Linked DNA regions of Homo sapiens: regions 1, 2, 3, 4, 5 and 6 are each linked to region 7. The links are contacts of gene promoters, found by promoter capture Hi-C in blood cells and fetal thymus (Javierre and others, 2016). All regions are on one chromosome and are shown on one strand. The core of a region is centred on a gene start or on the middle of the fragment in contact, and the rest is flanking DNA. Distances in the headings are between cores, read along the strand shown. Region 1 has its middle 4.2 kb from the start of EXOC4. Region 2 holds the start of TRIM24 (tripartite motif containing 24). Region 3 holds the start of CHCHD3 (coiled-coil-helix-coiled-coil-helix domain containing 3). Region 4 overlaps CREB3L2 (cAMP responsive element binding protein 3 like 2). Region 5 overlaps CREB3L2 (cAMP responsive element binding protein 3 like 2). Region 6 overlaps DGKI (diacylglycerol kinase iota). Region 7 holds the start of STMP1 (short transmembrane mitochondrial protein 1).

Region 1 (2,700 bases), core at 5-2,504, 2.4 Mb after region 7:
AAAAATCAATGTGGAGGTCTCACACTTCCTGATTTCAAAACTTACTAAAAATCCGCAGTAATCAAAATAGCATGGTACTTGCATAAAAATAAACACATAGATAAATATAGTAGAATAAGCCATACAGAAATAAGCCTATTCATCTATGATCAATTGATTTTCTTTTTTTTTTTTTTTAGACGAAGTCTCTTTCTGTCACCCAGGCTGGAGTGCAGTGGCTCAATCTCAGCTCACTGTAACCTCTGACTCCCAGGTTCAAGCAATTCTTGTGCCTCAGCCTTCCAAGTAGTAGACACGGGGTTTTGCCATGTTGGCCAGGCTGTTCTTGAACTCCTGACCTCAGGTGATCTGCCCACCTCAGCCTCCCAAAGTGCTGGGATTACAGGCATGACCCACCGCACCCAAACAGTCAATTGATTTTCAACAAAGCTGACAGTACCATTCAATAAGGAAAGAATAGTCTCCTCAATAGATGGTGTTGAAAACTGGATAAGCATAAGCAAAAAAGTGAAGATGGACCCTACCTCATACAATATGCAAAAATTAACTAAAAGTGGATCAAAGACCTAAATATGAGATAAAACTCTTAGAACAAAATACAAGGGTAAATTTTCATGATTCTTAGCTATGACATCAAAAGCATAAGCAACAAAAGAAAAAATAGGTATATTGGGCTTTATTAAAATTAAAAACCCTCATACATCAAAGTACACTTTTCAAGAAAGTGAAAAGACAGGCACAGGATGGGAGAGAATAAAAGCAAATCACATACAGTATCTGGTAAGAGTTCTGTATCTAGACTATGTGAAGAACTCTTACAACTCAACACAAAAGGAAATAAAAATTAAAACCTAGGCAATGGATGTGAATAGACATTTCTCCAAAGAAGATACACAAATGGCCAAAAAGCACATAAAAAGATGCTCGACATCATTAATCATTATAGGAAAATGCAAAACCATAATGAGATACCACTTCACACCCACTAGGTTGGTTACAATTTTTTTAATGGAAAATAAATGTTGGCAAGTATGTGGAGAAACTGGAACCCTTGTACATTTATTTTGGGAATGTGAAATGGTTCAGCCATTGCAGAAAACAATTTGGTGGTTCCTTAAAAAACTAAACATAAAGTTACCATATGACCCAGCAATTCCGCTCATAGGTATATGCACAAGAGAATTGAAAACAAGTGTTCGGAAAATAACTTGTATACAAACATTCATAAAAGCACCATTCAAAATAGCCTAAAGGTGGAAGCAGTCCAAATGTTTAACAATGAATGAACTGCAACAATATGACTGTATCAGTGTGGTATAAACAAAATGTGCTATATCCATACAATGTAATATTATTCACACATAAAAATGAAAAAAGTACTGATATATGCTACAATATTGATAAATCTTGAAATCATGCTAACAGAAAAAAGCCAGACACAAAAGGCCATATTGTGTATAACCCCATTTATCTGAAATATCCAGAACAGACAAATTCATAGAGACAGAAAGCAGATCAGTGGTTGCCAAGGGCTGCAGGGCAGGAAGAAATGAGGAATGACTGCTCAATGGATACAGAGTTTCATTTTGGAGTGATGAAATGTTCTGGAACTACAGTCAATGGTTGCATAGCTTGTGAATGTATTAAAGGTCAGTAAATTATAAACTTTAAAGTAGTCAAAAGTCATAAATTTTATGTTATGTGTTTTTCACCACACCTTAAAAAAAAATGCAGTTTGTGTAGCAGGATGGCCTAGATTCAATCCCAGCTTTCCACTTCCTGGCTAGATTACCTAGGACAAGTTACTTAACTTTACTCTGCCTCAGTTTCTTTATCTGTAAAGCAGGTGGTCATTGTACTTCACATAGAGAGTTATTGTAAGAATATGTGAGATATACATTATCAGCACTTGGTAAATATCAGCTATTATTACTAAAGTATGGTACTAATTTTGTTGAAAATACATCTCTGGGGTTATTGCAAAGTTGTTTTGAGCGTCAATAACATGGGTAATTTTTTTTTTTTTTTTTACACTTTTCTGTGTTTTACAAAGTTTCCGGGATGGGCACAGTGGCTCATGCCTGTAATCCCAGCACTTTGGGAGGCCGAGGCAGGTGGATCACCTGAGGTTAGGAGTTCGAGACCAGCCTGGCCAACATGGCAAAACCCCGTCTCTACTAAAAACATAAAAACTAGTGGGGCGTGTTGGCAAGCTCCTGTAATCCCAGCTGCTCTGGGGGCTGAGGCAGGAGAATTGCTTGAACCAGGGAGGCGGATGTTGCAGTCAGCCAAGATTGTGCCACTGCACTCCAGCCTGGGTGACAGAAGGAGACTCCATCTAAAAAAAAAAAAAAAAAAAAAAAAAATTTCCAGGTGTTGCTTTTTATAAGCAGAAATACACAAAAGTACTTCCTTTAAAGGAGAATTGGATAAGTGTCAGAAACAATGGCCTACTTTCATCACAAAATGGAAATACAATTAAGTGATAAATAAATTAGCACACCCAAATTAATTAATTTATTTTATTTTATTTTTTTCAGACGGAGTTCTGCTCTTGTTGCCCAGGCTGGAGTGACGCGATCTCGACTCACTGCAACCTTCACCTCCCAAGTTCAAGTGATTCTCCTGCCTCAGCCTCCTGAGTAGCTGCGATTACAGGCACATGCCACCATGCCTGGCTAAAACCAGTATATATGCAGG
Region 2 (2,700 bases), core at 15-2,514, 2.8 Mb before region 7:
AACAACGTCTCTTGGTTCCTTTGTCCCCAGCAGAGGAGAGGGAAGAGAACTGGGAACTCATTAAGGTAAAGAGCCCCAAACATGCAAGATAAGAAATAAATGACATCCGATCTGCAATCAATCATCAAAGAAAGTCACCATCACTTCATCTTCATCCCTCCCTTCTCCCCTGCAGCTCAAATAACGTGAGTATAGACGAGATGATCAGGATCATATGGACCTGGACAAAGCTTTGTGGAGGCAGCGGGCGGGTAGCAGTTAACTGGCTGCAGCCGGCAAAGAACCCGAGATTCCGGCTGCAGGAGACTCCGACAGAGGTCTGCAAAAGTGCGAGTGGCAGGGGCCGCCCGGCTGTTGAGAATGCGGAGCAGCGGCGGCGGCGGCGGCGCGGTCAAGTCCACAGCGCCCGGGGAAGTTGCTGGCCGAGCGCGACACGCCGCAGAGCGCGGGCCCTCCATGTCACCGTCGCCAGCACAGACCCTCCTGCTCGCCCCTCCCCCGCCGCGCACCCCGGGCGGCGGCGACATGACAGCGGGTCGCGCCGCACAAGGGCGCCCGCCCCCTCCTGGCCCTCTCCCCGGGCTCCCCAGCGGCCGCGGCCGGTTCTCACCTTGGGTGGCGAACGGCGACGAGCCGCTGACCGGCGAGCCGGGGGCAGGGACGGGTGGCGGGGTCTCGGCCGAGCCCAGCATGGGCGCGGGCAGCATGAGGTAGCGCTGGGGCGCGGGCAGGCAGCGCTGGCAGAAAGAGTGCAGGCAGGGCAGCAGCTTGGGCGCCCGGCTCTGGATGTTCTGGTGGCACACGGCGCAAGTGTCCAACAGGTTGAGCCGGGCCGCCTCGCCGCCGCGCTCCGAGTCCGGGCCCTGCCGACTCTCGGCCTCGTTCTCCCCGCTCGGCGCCGCCGAGGGCCCCCCGGAGGCCGCAGCCGAGGCCGCTGCCGCCGCCGCCACCGCCTTCTCCACCGCCACCTCCATTGTCCTGCCCTTGCCGCCGCCGGGGAAGCGAGAGCGCGGTCTCCGCCCGCCGCCCCCGACGACCTCCTCCTCCTCCTGCGGCTGCTCCTCAGAGGCCGCTCGGTGGACTCGCGGCAGCGCCAGCGAGGGAGGGAAAGCAAACCGGGCGGGGGAAGCCTCCTCAGGCCCACGGGATCCGCCTCCCGAGTGGCGCGGCCGGAAGGAGGGTATCTGTCAGCGGAGACCGTTCCTCGCACCGGGGAGGCTGCACCCCGTCCGCTTCGCCAACCGCCGAGGCGCTCGTGGAATACGCCCAGCCCGCCCTTGCCTCCCCGCCTTTCTCTTCATCCCCCTGGCCCACCTCAGGCCCCGCCCCCGCCCCCGCCCTCCCTCTCCCAGCAACTGAGGCTTCGGTGTGGAGCGCGCCGCCCAATAGCGGCCGCGCCTGGCGAGGGGGCGGGACCTGTTGGAGCCCGCGAGGCTCCGTCGGCCGCGGCGGGAGGTTGGGAAGTGGGAGGTGCTTGCCCAGCCCCGCCCCCTCCGGACGCCTGAAATCGCGGCTTCTGATTGGGCCTTTGTGTATGTTTCCTCCTCTGAAAAGATTAAGGGTTCATTTGTTAACGACCATCCGCCTGATTCGGTCCGCGGTGTTAGCTCCTCCTAGGGGGCGGGACCTCACTTGTCTACTCAATGCCGTTAATTAAGTAACTGCTTGGAAAACTGATTTCATTACTGGAGACCTGGTCTTGTAGGAGGAGTAAATATGGTCGGAGGGTCACAGGAGGAAGGAGTGGAGGTACTGAAGAGCAAACAAGGAAATAATTTTTTAAAATACTGTGTGAAAGAGGTACTCTGGAGGCAGCAGGGATATTGCAACCTAATTTTACTCATCTCTAGAATGAATGAGTATGAAGAATAAGGGGGGGAAGTTCTCGTGCAAGTTGGAAATTTTTAAAGGGTTTCCCCAATGAAAAAGGTGAAATTAATTTTTAAAGTCAGTGATTTGCTTTTTAAGTGACTAAAAGTGGTTCGTTTTCCCAGGAATTAATACAGATTGACAAATGTTTTTATTGCATAAATATAGCATCATTAAGCAAAAATAAACCTCAATACTGTTACCCAAATAATTCATAACTTCAGGATTCTTTTGTATTTCCTCCCTCCCTCTTATTTTATTCCCTCCCTCCCTCCCTCACCTCTCTACGCTGATATCAGAAGTTACGCACATTTTTCACTCAAAAAATGGCGCAGCTTTTAAGGAACTTGAAGAATAGAAACGGAATGAAGGAAACAAGATTTTGTAACACGTAACTTTAAGAAGTATTTACCTTTTTTTTTTTTTTTTGTCAATACTAATGAAGCGGTACTGGACTTTAGAGAAAGATGGAGTGGGTCATGAAAGGCTTTGCTAAAATCACAGTTTTCCTGGAGGACTATATGGGATGGCAATGGGGGAGGGCTAGGCAACGTAGCCTTCCTTCAAGACCTTGCCCTTAAACACAACCTCCGTAGGCCTCAAGTGAGAGGTTCTTTTACTTAATCACAAGACATTCAACAGCTCTTCCCGCCTCCCCCACCCATTGGTTCCTGTTTAAGCTTGGGATTTTTTGTTTGTTTGTTTTTTTGCATGGAAGTAGCTCTTAAACCTTAGTTTGCATAAGAATAACTTGAGAAGCTTAGTGAAAAACAGGTGCTTGGGCCACCTCCGTATTCAGTTATTCAATTTTGATAGCATCTCAAGTGATTC
Region 3 (2,700 bases), core at 106-2,605, 2.6 Mb after region 7:
ACCTTTCAGTGGGACAAGATGTGAAGGTGGAAGACAGTGATATTGATGATCCTGACCCCGTGTAGGTCTAGGCTAATGTGTGTGTGTTTGTCTTAATTTTTAACAAAAATGTTTAAAAAGTAAAAAGTAAATAATTTCAAAAATAGAAAAAGCTTATAGACTAAGTATATAAAGAAAGAAATATTTTTGTACAGCTATATAGTGTGTTTGTGTTTTAAGCTAAGTGTTATTAAAGAGTCAAAAAGTCACAAAAAAAGAAGTTTATAAGTTTAAAAAGTTACAGTAAGCTAAGGTCAATTTATTCTTGAAGAATGAAAATATATGAAAATAAATTTAGTGTTGCCTAAGTGCACAGTGTTGATAAAAGGTACAGTACTGCATAGTTGCGTCCCAGGCCTTCACATTCAACTCCCCACTCACTCACTGACTCACTCAGGGCAACTTCCAGTCCTGTAAGCTCCATTCATGGTAAGTGCCCTATAGAAGCATACCATTTTTTATCTTTGATTTTTTTTTTAATGGAATGCTTCAGAAATTCATGTGTCAACCTTGCTCAGGGGCTGTGCTAATCTCTGTATTGTTCAAATTGTCCTAGATGTGTTGCCAAAGCAATCACTTTTACACTGTTTTTGCTGTAGCTTTTCTATGTTTACATATATTTGTACACACAAATACCACTGTGTTACAATTGCCTACAGTATTTAGTACAGTGACATGCTGTACATCTTTGCAGCCTGGGAGCAATAGGTTACACCAAGTAGCCCAGGTGTGTAGTAGGCTACACCATCTGGGTTTGTGTAAGTACACTCTATGATGTTTGCACAACCACAGATATCACAGGGTCACCTAACGAGGCATTTCTCAGAAGTAGTCTTCATTAAGCTACCCTACGACTGTAATGAAACGCTAAGTTTTGAGCCAGGAATTTGTGTATAGAACACTAGGAATGGCTTCATTAGTATCATGCATCTTTTTCATTAAACTGTGAGTCCCTTTGAGAGAAAGATTGTGTCTCTGAACTTAGTGGCCTAAATTTCTAGAATTATGTCTTCAAAAAGTTGCCCAGTTAGGCGTCTCTGGGGAGTCAAAACCACAACTCCCAGAATGCCGTGCTCCCTTAGCGCGCTCAGGCGCGGGGAGAGAATGTCCCATCACCCACCGCGCCAGATCGAGACCACAGTTCCCACTACACCCAGGGACTCCGCGGAAAGCTATCAAACACCACCTGTTGCCATAGCATCCGGGTCGGGTGAACCAATCCGGGCGCCCTCGCCGAACAGAGGCGGGCAGTTCGCATCGCCGACCAACCTGAGGCGTTTTTGTTGTGGCGCGTGACCGGAGGAGGCGGGAGCTCAGGACCGGCGCCTTCTCCTTGCTTCTGGGGGTCGTGGCCTTGCTCCCGCTGTGCGGGAAAAGAATCCAGGCCCTTCCACGCGCGTGTGGGTGCGGGGGCCCCGAAGTGCTCGTGGTTCCCCGCTAGGTCTCCGCTGGGGCAGGAACCGGAATCATGGGTGGGACCACCAGCACCCGCCGGGTCACCTTCGAGGCGGACGAGAATGAGAACATCACCGTGGTGAAGGGCATCCGGGTGAGTGCCCGTGGACGGGCGGAGGGCCAGTGGTTGGACTCGGACCCCAAGGCCCCATCTTCTCCGGACCCGCTCAGCCTGGGTTTCTCCCGTCCTGGACCCTAGCGTATTAAGGCCAGAAGCCCAGGTGTCTGGGAAGAAGCCTAGAGTTTCAAGACGTGGGACATTCATTCAGAGATAGTTCCTGGTTGTGCCAAGTGCTAGGCACTGCTGGGGCGGGCGGGGAATGCCAGGTTGAATTATACCCTGCAAGGGCTCACAGTCTACTCGTAACTGTACTGCTCCCTTGTTGCAGGACCGTATTTGAAACCCATACCTCGGTGTACTTGTCTGTGAAATGGTTTTCCTGGGTTCAGGACCCAAACCCTGCTTTTCCACTGTGCACACCCTGTCTCCCAGGGTGAATTGGCATTTTAAGGATTGCCTTTGCTTTGTGTCATTTAGTGCTCTCCCTCTGATAACACCCCCTCCTCCCACCCACTCCCCACACCCTGTCATCCTCCCTCCCAGCCCCACAGTCTTTTCTGACCTGCCTGGGGCGGCTTCTGGCTTCTCCCTGCTTCACTTTCACTTGATATCTCCTCTTTCCCAGGCGCCTCCTCTGTGACCTGCTGCGCCGAAGTTTTGGATTAGGCCCAGTTGCTTCAGGACTAGTGTCTGCCAGTCTGATAGGGGCTGAGATGGGTTTGCAGTTTTTCATACCAGTAGAAGTAATGTAGTCATTTCTGACCAACGTTGTAGAGCACTTTTTTTTTAATGCCCTTTGCATGCACCTGATACATAAACTGAAAACCTGGTTTTTCTCTAGGGTGTCAGTATACCAGCACTAACTTCATTAACACACTCTCCGCTGCGCCTGAATTTGGAGCCTCACATTTTTGGACGTATGATGCCTGAACCTAGTAAATAAAGCAATTTTGACTTCAGAAAGTTTTATAATAATTTATATATTTTTTTCTGTTATCAACCAGCGTAAATAAATTACATTTGTAAATTATTTTTAACAGTTGTTACCAGGAAATAAAACTTCTTAAATATTTAAAATGTTTAAAAACTTTTTCTTCTGAAACTGTTACCTTGAGAATAATTTATTAAACTTTTCTTCATAGAAA
Region 4 (2,700 bases), core at 8-2,507, 2.3 Mb before region 7:
TCATTGTGATAAAGCAGGAATGTGTGATTATTTTTCTTTTATTTCTATTTTTAAAAAATGCTTATTATGTCCTCCACTTAGGTACATGTCTGTTGTGAACAGCTCATTCCTGTAAAATGCTGCTCATCATTGCTGCAAGTCAGTGCAACAAACTGTGCATATGAATTACTGTTGAAAGAGGTATTGGTTTAGCAGCACAAATGATTGGGTTATATTTCTCTCAAACTAAGGGACGTTTGGGAGAGGTGGGGAGATAATTTTCCCATCTGTTTCCTGAACTCTGTTAGATATCCAGGGGCAGAGCTGTTTGTTACTCTAGCTGAATCTTTATGTAGAAAAAGGATGGCCTGATTATTCATTCAGTCAGAGAGATATTTGTTCTTTCGATTAATATTTGTGGAATATATAAAGCACTTGGAAACATGAGTGAACAGAAGCAGACAAAATCCCTGACTTCTAGAAGCTTATATTCGTGTGTGTGTGTGTGTGTGTGTGTGTGTGTGTGTGTGTGTAGGGGAACATAAACAATAAACATTATAAAGAAGTGATTATGTTGGATGAAATAAGTGTTATGGAAAACGTATAAGTAGAACAAGGTGAGGGGGATAGAGAATACAAGGTGGAAGAAGAGCAAACTATGGGATTGAACTGAGTGATCAGAGCAAGCTTCCCATAGAAAATGGATCTGAACAAAAATTGGAAGGAGGTAAGAGTGTTAGCTCAGCAGGATGAAGAACTAGAGCAAAGGCCTAAGGTAGGTGTGCATTTTCATGAGACTGTGTTAATATCATGTATTTCAGATTACTCATTTTGGTGAGTTATTTGTCTTATAAACTCTGGGTGCTTCTGAGACACCAGTGCCTGTTTTTGGAATGATTTCATAAAACTTTCCAAGTTGAAGAGAGCCTGAGGGGAGGGTGAGGTTCAAATACGAGTTGTGAGGGTGGTAAGAGATGATGACAGCTACCATCTATTGAGTGTTTATCATCCGAAAGGCAGGGCTGACCACATGGCCTGCCACCCATGCAGTGCCACGGGGTCCACACTTGGTTTGATGCTGTGCTGTCACCATCTTGAAAATCTTAATTCTTTTTGAACTGGGGACCTTACATTTTCATTTTGCACTGGGTTTCACAAATTACGTAGCTGGTCCTGCTGAAAGACATTGTGTCTAGTGCTTTACAAATATTATGCCATTTAACCCTTGTAATGACCCAGTGAAATGAGCCATTTTTATTACTTTTATTTTACATATAAGAAAAATGAGGCTTCGTGAGTTTAAGCCACTTGGCTCAGTTCCCACAGCTATTTAGTGATAGAACCAGGATTCAAACCCATGTTTGCCTGCCTGCAAGTACTTGCCTATCAGGCTGTCTGAGTGAAGAATCCTGACTTAAAGAGAAGGAACTGAATAAGAGGTTGGGAGAGAGTGATTGGAATATAGGAACTGCTGAGCCTGAAAGCAGCTAATGTTTAAATGAGGCTGACAGTGGCAGCCACCAAACCTTCCTAGTGAGATCACTTTTGTTGCTCTTACTAGGGATTTAGTTACTACATGCATGATTGCTAATGCTCTGTTTTAGCAAACCTGTCACATACTTGATTTAAACAATTTAGAATGTTCAAGTTACCCAAGGCTGAGATTATGATGTTTCTCAGGAGCCTTCTGTTAACCGTTAGGAGCAATGTTTTTTTTCATTTGGTTAGTTATGAAGACATCTTGGTCTACAAGGACAAAGGCAGACAGGTTCAGAGTCTACAAAATAATGAAGCATATGGATAGGGCAAAGATGGACTGATCATTAGATCCTGAATTGCTAAAGCTCTGGGCTTCCTCTTGAAGCTTAAAAAATTGTTTCCATACAGATGATGAAATGTTATTTTAATTCAGTGAGTACTGATTTTAGGAAAGCTGTTGCTTCAAGATGGAATACAGGCTAAAATTGGTTCAGAAAAGATGGCAAATCTAGAAATCAGGAGAATATCTCTTGGGGTTCGGTACCACCGTGAGAAGAAACCTTGCCTCTTTCCCCAGACCTGCCTGTATGTTGGACATTTCTGCCATTTGTATTGTATTCCTATAAAATTCTCTGAAAATTACTTTCTGGGAATTGTCTGTGCTTTTGTAATTTCTATTTTATTTTATTTTATTTTATTTTATTTTTGAGATGGGTCTTGTTCTGACACCCAGACTAGAGTGCAGTTGCTCAATCATGGCTCACTGCAGGCTTAACCTTCCAGGCTCAAGTGATCCTCCCACCTCAGCCTCCAGAGTAGCTGGGAGTATCAGTGTGTGCCACCATGCCTGGCTAATTTTTTTCTTCTTTTTTTTTGGTAGAAACGGGATCTCAGTATGTTGCCCAGGCTGGTCTCCAACTCCTGGGTTTAAGGGACCCTCTTGCCTTGGCCTCCCAAAGTGCTGGGATTACAGGTGTGAGCCACTGTGCTCAGCCCCCTTTTGCAATTTAAAGAGCAAAATAATCTATAAATTTTAAAATGTATTTTATATATGTATAAACTGTATCTGGAAGGATGCTCAAGAAGTGGATAATTTTTGGGAAAGCAGCTTGGGGAAGTGGAAGTCAAGAGATGAAGGGAAGCATGTCTACACACTATACCTGTTGGTACTATTCAGATTTTTACCTCGTCACTATGTCTAGAAAATGGAAGAAATACAACTTGTAGGCACCATGTAAAACT
Region 5 (2,700 bases), core at 56-2,555, 2.3 Mb before region 7:
TCTGAGTCGTGGCTAGGATCAACATACACTTCTTAAATATTCCAATTCCATATCAAGGATAGTGCTCCTCCTTCTCCCTGAGCCACTGGAGGGAGCACCAATGTATTAACAGTTTTCTTTGTTGACTGAATTTGCTTTTTTTAACCTGCTTTCTGAAAGTGCATCACATTACCATCCAAACTTATTGGACATAATTTTTTAAAGTATGTAAGCAAGTAACATATAATCTATTTTACAAATTATGCAGTAAGACATAGTGGGATATAATTTAAGAAGATGCAACTAGCCCTTATTTTTCCACTCTCTGGAGGAATTTCATAACTTTTCACATGTTTGCACTTCCTGTCTCTGATCTGTATCTTCTTTGGCTCCTCTGTCTTGATGCCCCTCCCAACTTCTGTTCACCTAAGTCCTTGATGCCATCAGTGAACATCAGATTCCTTCTTTGGAAGACCAGTGGTTCTCAGAGTGTGCTTTATGGACCAGCAAAGCATACGAGAACTTGGTAGAAAGACATATTCTTGGGCCCCACTGCAGACCTACTGAATTAGAAACTCTAGGGTGAGATGCACCCATTGTGTTTTAATAAACTCTCCAGGTGATTGTGATACACCCTCAGGTTTAAGCATTCCTGCCCTAGAGGAGGAGGCTAGATTCAGTAGGTGTTTCTCCCAGTTGCCCATTTTGACATAAATAATAGCACTTTGTTTTGCTCCTCCTCAGGCATAGAATCCCATAGTTTTAAGTGGAGTGGGATTTTGAGTGGACGTTACCCTGGTCAACTCTCTTTACCGTAGAAGAGAGAGCTTTGCAGATAGTTGCAGTGTTTGGCTGGAGAACCTAGGGCTTTCTATGTCCTTGCTTATAACATGGGCTGTGTCACTTCCTTGAAACTTTAATCAGTGCTTCCTGAGACCAGGGTTCTTTGTAAAATAACTTAAGGAAGTATTCCAGAAGAACCAATAGCATTGGTCTACTCACCTGTGTGTTCTATTAACATTTTAATATTAACAATATTCTGATATTTCAGATGTAGATTGCAAAGCCTCACAATCAAGGGGCTTTTGTCATTGATTCGATTTAATTATCCTAAGGGAAAAAATGGAATGCTTAAACTAGCAAAAGTTCACGTTTCTGTCTTTTTGGCCATGTTTTCCTCAACGAGTGTAAATATATTTGTGCGCATGTGTGTTGATACTGCGTGTTGGAAAGACAGAAGGAGACAGACTAAATTTCTGTTTATAGAAAAATCGTAAGTAATCTGAGGAAGCAGTAATTACTGGAGTTGGCAACAGTTTGAGCACTATCCTGTCCCTTGATCTAACTCTGGCTTTAGAGATAGTTGAATTTAGAATGTTACCTTATGGGCAGTTTCTTTATCTATTTTGTTTCCCCGGTTGGACAATCTCTGTAGTAGAACTAGAGTTTGGTCACTACTTGTATTAGTCTGTTCTTACGCTGCTGATAAAGACATACCTGAGTCTGGGTAATTTATAAAGAAAAAGAGGTTTCATGGACTCACAATTCCACGTGGTTGGCGGAAGGCAAAAGGCACGTCTTACGTGGTGGCAGACGAGATAATTGAGAGCCAAGCAAAAGAGGTTTCCCCTTATAAAACCATCAGATCTCATGAGATGTATTCACTACCATGAGAACAGTATGGGTGAAACCGCCTCCATCATTCAATTATCTCCTTCCAGGTCCCTCCCACAACATGTGGGAATTATGGGAGCTCAATTCAAGGTGAGATTTGGGTGGGAACAAAGCCAAACCATATCACTACTGGATTATGACTCTCTATAATTTGAAAAGAATGGTAGAATTTAAAGAATTTGAAAGCAGTCCGTTTGTTTTCAATATTGGATTGTTCAATATTGATTACCTTGCATATCATGCTTGTTCCCTCCCCATCTTTGTGGGAGTGCAGGAGGCACAAAGAAAGCCTTTAACTGAATGATCTGGTTTTTCTAGATGGCTTAACATTTTTGTATTTGATGGGTCAATAGCCTTGGGTGCTTTAGTCTAGATGCTGAGTGCTCAAAAGGCTAAACACGGAGGAAAACATTCCCCTGTCGAAACACATGATTGATTTGGTAGTGACAAGTGTTTTGGGAGCCAGAGACATGCTAGTGGGTTAAGCAAGGGTTTGTTTGTTTGTTTGTTTGTTTTGCTTTGTTTTGTTTGTTTTGAGAGGAAGTCTCGCTCGTGTCCCCTAGGCTGGAGTGCGATGACATGATCTTGGCTCATTGCAACCTCCATCTCCTGGGTTCAAGTGATTCTCCTGCCTCAGCCTCCCAAGTAGCTGGGATTGCAGGTGCCTGCCACCACGCCTGGCTAATTTTTGTATTTTTAGTAGAGACAGGGTTTCACCATGTTGGCCAGGCTGGTCTACGAACTCCTGACCTCAGGTGATCCGCCCGCCACGACCTCCCAAAGTGCTGGGATTACAGGCGTGAGCCACCGCGCCTGGCCGCAAGTGTTTCTTTAACATGGCCATCTTAAAAGGGATAAAGGATCTTCTAGGAATTTATTTCAGCTGAAAACAGATTGTGATACATTCTTACTTTGGTGTTGTCATCATTTGTTCATTTCTATTTTTTCTTTCTTTCTTCAACAGATATGTCAAATACTATCCTAACATTGAACAAAATAAGTTGTTTAAAAAAAAACACCAAAATAAAAAAGGCAATAACTATTTTT
Region 6 (2,700 bases), core at 63-2,562, 2.0 Mb before region 7:
AGTGCTGGGATTACAGGTGTGAGCCACCGTGTCTGGCCAACATATGATTTTTGAGGAGACACAGTTTAGTCCATAGTATCCCCCATAAAAAATAATTACATGCCCATGTACATCTGATGAATAAAATAAAAACAAGAGTAATTTTCCTGTAAGCCATGGAGACTTAGTCTTGTTTCTTTATGGTTAATCTAATACAATACTTTCCCTAACAGCTCAGAGCTCCTTTTAAGCAAATGAGCAAAATATACAATTAATATATAAATCTATAATTTCCAAGATAGAGTCCCATAAGAAGGAATATGGAATTCTATTCATCGTACGATTAAAAAAAAAAAAAAACAGTTTGCTTCCCCCTTTCCCCAATACCGCACTACACATTTCTGGAAAATAGGGTTGTTGCTCATCAGGTCATACATTCTAGCAGCTCTGTTCCCCATCCAAAGTATATGAATATTTTTAGAAGCAATAACATTTAGTTTGAAAAATTGAGAAGTAATTGGGTGAAGACCTTACTGAATTAGTAAGATGTGAATTAGCAGAAACGTATTATGCTTTGAGTACACAGGGACTTAGTTTTAAGAAGCCTCTGCCCTTAGAAATATAATTTACCTATTACTGGTATAACTGTGTTTTCAAACTGTCTTTACTTAAAATACTTTAATGCTACCATCCTCCTTTTTAGCTAATTTGTTAAGCTTATTCACTAAGCAAAGTCAAATTTTAATATAATTTTAGTCTCAGTTGTCATGACATTTGCAGTGGTGGGCCTGGTGAATAAGGTTTGACATCGAACTATTTAGAGGTGTTTTTTCCTCATTTGTTGAATATGTTTCAAAAATGTCCACCTCCATGGATAAAGCAGCTATAAACCTAATGTTTATTTTAGTTATAGCTCAAAGTTTTTCCAAACACCTTTCTCCCTTTTTAGAATTTCGGGAGAATCAACTCTAGCAGTACTTTTAGTGGTCAAATGAGAAATGTTTAGACTCCTTGGTTTCACTAACTTTCTTGTATCCCAAATCTAAATTTGAAATAGTTTTCCTTATCCCTGGAAAAAAAAAATTGATGTCAGGTGGGTCTTTTCCTTGCAGGAGAATGCCGTGAATGGAGAACACCTGTGGCTGGAGACCAACGTCTCGGGAGACCTCTGCTACCTTGGAGAGGAGAACTGCCAAGTCAGATTTGCAGTGAGTGTGCGCTCCGTCTTGCTGGGGGAAGGCCTGTGGATCTGAATGAATAGAGGGGTCACCTTGCCTAAATTTCCAAGGGGAGGTTTGAACGAGCCTGTCCTTGTGAGATGGAAAACTTTCCGGATGTTTTCAAGGTTTGCAGAGAGTTTCTCAAGTTAACATGGCTTTCAGGTTGTCGCTCGTAATGGTTTTAGGGTTCACTTATGCAGGCCAGGCCTTGGTGTCATGTGTTACTTTATAATGATGCCCAGGGTAGGTTGTTGTGTGTTGGTGGGGGGCAGAGGGTAAATGTGTACGAGGTAGTGTCTCCTTATGGAGGAGTTGTTGGTGTGGGGCCAAGGCCTGTGTGTGGAGGAAGGGGCTCTGTCTGTAGGGAAGTGGCCACAGTGGGGGCTTTACTGGTGGGTGAAGGTGGAAAGAGAGGGAAACACCTGTGCTGGGAATGGGTGTAGGCTAACAAATAATCCAGACTAAGTTCTGGAGGATACGATTCTAGAAATAATATAAACAATCAACAGTCAGGTCAATTGGAGTTAACTTTTGTTGTTTAAAATTTGCTTTGTGTCCCTATTTAGAACAATCTATTTAGAGGGTTAAAATTCTCTTTATGTTGTGAGGTAAGTGTGGTTGCCAAGTAGTGCATTGTGGAGATATCAAAACCACAGTGTTGAGAAATTGAACTTAAAGTTTGTGTGTAGTTTTAAATGATTGGTCCAAACAGACAGTAATGGGAAGCTTAGGATAGTAAAGAAGAGATAAAAGATGTATTCCTTCTTATTTGGGGAAATTAGCACCAGAATTTATAGAATGCTTTTTTCTTTTTTAAAAAAATATTTGTTTATTATGTGAAAGAAATATTTGCAGCAAGATGTAGGGCCTTGAAATTGCAGATGAATATGTGTTTGTTAATAACCAATATGGAATAAATCGAGTTTCCATCAAAGCTTATAGAAGGATATGTATAGCCCCCAACGATTTTAACCAGGCTGCCTAAAAGCACAAAGTCCCAGAACCAAGACCTTTTTTGTTGCTTTAGCTGTTTTAACTCCTTGTTTATAAATTTCATTTGGAGAGTTTTGAGAGTTCTGGGGAGAACAGGGCCTGTTTAAGTGAAGTTGGGAATCAATGTCAGGGAAAGACCCAGATGAACAGGCTCTGGATTGGAAGTCGGGAAACCTGGAGCTGAATCTCAGTGTTACTGCTCAGTGTGTGACATTGAGAACTCGTGACCTTTGGGCCTTGGCTACCTTCTAAAACAGAGAGTAGGATTAAATTCTTTTTTATTAATTTATTTTTGTTTCTAGACCTGTAATTAATCATTTGCTTCTCTTCTAATTTTGTTGTAAATTTAATTGACTTAAATATCAGGATTTCAACTTTATGCATATGTATTTTTAATTAAAGTATAATTGCATGGAATTGGATTGAATTAACGAAATCCATGAGAAGCTCAGCTGTTTGGACTAAAATGCTGTAAATAATGAATTAACATTAGTGTCTTGGTTAATTG
Region 7 (2,700 bases), core at 78-2,577:
AACCCCGTCTCTACTAAAAATACAAAAATTAACTGGGCCTGCTGGCGCGCACCAGCTACTCGGGAGGCTGAGGCAGGAGAATCGCTTAAACCCAGGAAGCGGAGGCTGCAGTGAGCCGAGATCGCACTACTGCACTCCAGCCTGGCGACAGAGCGGGACTCCGTTAAAACAAACAACAAAAAAAGATACAGCATTTGAGCCGGGAGCAGTGGCTCACGCCTGTAATCCCAGCACTTTCGTAGGCTGAGGTGGGTTGATCACTTGAGGTCAGGAGTTCGAGACCAGCCTGGCCAACTTGGTGAAACCCGTCTCTACTAAAAATACAAAAATTAGCTGAGCATCCTGGTGCGCGCCTGTAATCCCAGCTACTCCGGAGGCCGAGGAGGGAGAATCGGTTGAACCCGGGAGGCGGAGGTTCCAGTGAGCCCAGATTGCGCCACTGCACTCCAGCCTGACGACACAGCGAGACTCCGTCTCAAAAAAAATAAAAAATAAAAAAAAATAGAGGTTGAAAGCATCAAGTTTTGAATGCACAATAGCTTGGCAGAAAAACTTTCACTTGAAAATTTGATGAGCAACTCCTGGAACCTTCACCAAGCAATTTTTGAAATATACCGAGTTTTGCCAGAAAACTCGTTTTTAACTCAAATAAGGAGCCAAGAGAAATAGTCTGCTTACTCATGCTTACACATTTTGGGAAAAATTACTTGTATACCAGTGTCTGACTCATTCCTCCAACTCTGAAAGGTCTGATGAGGACTTAGCCTCTCGGACTTCGTGAGGTGGCTAATTTACGGTTTATTCCTGGCCTTCCTACCTCCTCAGAAAAGCCAACTAGCAGGGCTCCACAGCAGGGACCGGCCGGCGACCATGTAATGGAACAGGAGCGCAGAAAGAAAGGGGGGCGGACTACGAAAAGTCATCAAGGACCACACAAGCTTTAATACAAAGATTGCACAATGAGCGCGGGGCGCGGCACACAATAAGAAGCTCTGGAAACGCACACTCTCTGACACCTCAAAGTTTTAGGGACTTGGATGGCTGCAGAAAAATATTGGCAAAGGGATTTTCTGGGGAGGCAGGAAGAAAACGGCCGCCCTGCGAGGCGACGACCAGGCGCGGGGGACGAAGGGACCGCTGGACCCACGCCCAGGCCGGGTCGGCGGGGTCGGCAATCCTCAAGGGGGAAATGGGGTCCGAGGCACGCCCCAGGCAGCGGGCCCCGCTCTTCGGCAGCTCCACTCACCAGGAACTGGAGCATGATGTCGGTGGGGAGGGCGAGGAGGGCGCGAAGGACTGCAGCAGCTCCGCGGGCCGGTCCGAGCCTACCTCCCCATGCGCGGGGGGGGCGGAACCCCTCGTCGACTTCCGGGTCACGCCACGCCCCGCCCCGCTCCTCCCACTCAGCCCGCGCCCGGAAACGACTTGCAGTGTCGCAGCGCCCAGGTTCCCCCTGGCGGAGCGCGTTGGCCTCACCGCCTGAACCGGCGGGGCAGCGAGCGCGCGACAGGACTTGCGAAGAGCAAGTCCCGAGCCTGGCTGGGCATCCTTGAGCATCCCGCCTCTGTAAACCTGGGCCGAGGCCCAGGAATCTATATTATTCTCAGCACGCGGACTATTCTGATACACAGCCCAGTTTAGGGCTCTCTAACCTAGAAGGACGGCATGAGCAGCGGGTCCCATCCCTAGGTTCGCAGCTGAATCGTGGGGGCTTTTGCAGCATCCTCTACTTGGGCCCAGCTGGACTTTGCGGGGAGGAAAGGAGGCTTGTAGCTCTCAAAGCTCCGCAGGTGTGCTGTGTAATCAGCGTTGTGTAATCAGGTGTTGTGTAATCAAGGTAGAGGCTGGGTACCGTATGGGGCCCATGCTGCCGTGTGCCGCACGCCAGTCACTGAGATGATGAGTTTTGTAGCAGAGAAAAGGTTTATTCACCAGGCAGCCAGCCGAGGAGACGGGAGAACAGATCTCAAATCTGCCTCCCCAAAGATGGGTTTTAGGGATATTTATGGGATAGAGGAGCAGGGTGGTCTGAGGTGTGGGGAAAGGCGGTTGAAGGTAAGGAAAAGTTTGGCAATGGGTTATCTGCGCGAGGTAGTCAAGCTTCATGGCTCTTTATAGGATACATGGTCACAAAATGACATCCTTAGCATGATCTGAGTGTGGAGGTTTTGGCCCTCTAATGTCAGAAGGACACCCATCGGGCTTTCATGCAGGCCCAGTTGAGAGGTTGGTGGTTTAAACTGTACAAGAACTGACCCCAACTTCCTGAAAAACAAGAAACCTTTATCAAGCAACCCAGATGTCAGAGATGTTATCCATAAGGAAGATAGTGGGAGCTTAGATATATATTGTTTAGCTCTGTGACTTTAGCTATGTGGGTTTTTTAATCCACTAAAAGCAGGTGACTAAAAACAAGTGAGAGAAGTTGCATTTGGCAGGCCTCATCAGGTTGGCTCTCAGTTTCACTGGCCTAGCTGGGTTTCTTGCCTGGGATGGCCATAGGTCCTGTTGACAATTTGTATCATCGCCACAAAGAGTCTGTTCTGTCAGTCTTCCGGTCTGTGTATGTGTGTGTTTTTTTCTCTCTTTCTCTTTTAAAGAATTTATTTTAAGCCTATTATACCACACAGTATGTTTTAAACACTAACTCCCTAATAAGATATATAACTCCCTAATAAGATAAAGCAAAGACAAAAAAAG

What was found. The method cuts DNA at HindIII sites, captures the fragments that hold promoters and counts their contacts. A CHiCAGO score of 5 or more calls a contact.
Region 1: a fragment that was not itself captured here is called in contact with the fragment with the promoter of STMP1 in region 7 in 1 of 17 cell types (non-activated CD4 T cells); the score reaches 10.6 in non-activated CD4 T cells.
Region 2: the fragment with the promoter of TRIM24 here is called in contact with the fragment with the promoter of STMP1 in region 7 in 1 of 17 cell types (total CD8 T cells); the score reaches 6.2 in total CD8 T cells.
Region 3: the fragment with the promoter of CHCHD3 here is called in contact with the fragment with the promoter of STMP1 in region 7 in 1 of 17 cell types (naive CD4 T cells); the score reaches 6.2 in naive CD4 T cells.
Region 4: a contact is called between a fragment that was not itself captured here and the fragment with the promoter of STMP1 in region 7, in 1 of 17 cell types (erythroblasts). The highest score is 5.1, in erythroblasts.
Region 5: a fragment that was not itself captured here is called in contact with the fragment with the promoter of STMP1 in region 7 in 1 of 17 cell types (erythroblasts); the score reaches 7.2 in erythroblasts.
Region 6: a contact is called between a fragment that was not itself captured here and the fragment with the promoter of STMP1 in region 7, in 1 of 17 cell types (M1 macrophages). The highest score is 7.4, in M1 macrophages.

The regions. Positions count from the first base shown.
Region 1 is chr7:133,247,549-133,250,248 of GRCh38, reverse strand. No RefSeq gene overlaps it. Among named protein-coding and RNA genes, the nearest start is that of EXOC4, 4.2 kb to the left of the region's middle. The HindIII fragment of the contact is 4,060 bases long and covers 1-2,700 here.
Region 2 is chr7:138,458,823-138,461,522 of GRCh38, reverse strand. It overlaps TRIM24 (tripartite motif containing 24), which reads right to left and starts at 1,264. Exons shown (of 19, transcript NM_015905.3): 1 at 611-1,264. The coding sequence starts at 974. RefSeq lists silencers at 393-872, 903-1,152, 1,213-1,602 and enhancers at 1,113-1,895, 2,299-2,700. The HindIII fragment of the contact is 2,319 bases long and covers 233-2,551 here.
Region 3 is chr7:133,080,745-133,083,444 of GRCh38, reverse strand. CHCHD3 (coiled-coil-helix-coiled-coil-helix domain containing 3) reads left to right here and starts at 1,355. Exons shown (of 8, transcript NM_017812.4): 1 at 1,355-1,588. The coding sequence starts at 1,508. It also overlaps the pseudogene RNU6-92P. RefSeq lists enhancers at 1,073-1,182, 1,393-1,572, 988-1,622. The HindIII fragment of the contact is 4,501 bases long and covers 155-2,700 here.
Region 4 is chr7:137,997,192-137,999,891 of GRCh38, reverse strand. The region is part of intron 1 of CREB3L2 (cAMP responsive element binding protein 3 like 2); the gene reads left to right. Among named protein-coding and RNA genes, the nearest start is that of CREB3L2, 3.5 kb to the left of the region's middle. The HindIII fragment of the contact is 1,177 bases long and covers 669-1,845 here.
Region 5 is chr7:137,963,805-137,966,504 of GRCh38, reverse strand. The region is part of intron 1 of CREB3L2 (cAMP responsive element binding protein 3 like 2); the gene reads left to right. Among named protein-coding and RNA genes, the nearest start is that of CREB3L2-AS1, 12 kb to the right of the region's middle. The HindIII fragment of the contact is 3,676 bases long and covers 1-2,700 here.
Region 6 is chr7:137,677,044-137,679,743 of GRCh38, reverse strand. It overlaps DGKI (diacylglycerol kinase iota), which reads left to right. Exons shown (of 33, transcript NM_001321708.2): 3 at 1,092-1,187. Among named protein-coding and RNA genes, the nearest start is that of DGKI, 170 kb to the left of the region's middle. The HindIII fragment of the contact is 1,230 bases long and covers 698-1,927 here.
Region 7 is chr7:135,661,141-135,663,840 of GRCh38, reverse strand. STMP1 (short transmembrane mitochondrial protein 1) reads right to left here and starts at 1,327. Exons shown (of 3, transcript NM_001130929.2): 1 at 1,247-1,327. The coding sequence starts at 1,261. RefSeq lists enhancers at 1-68, 69-593 and a silencer at 1,233-1,452. The HindIII fragment of the contact is 1,162 bases long and covers 941-2,102 here.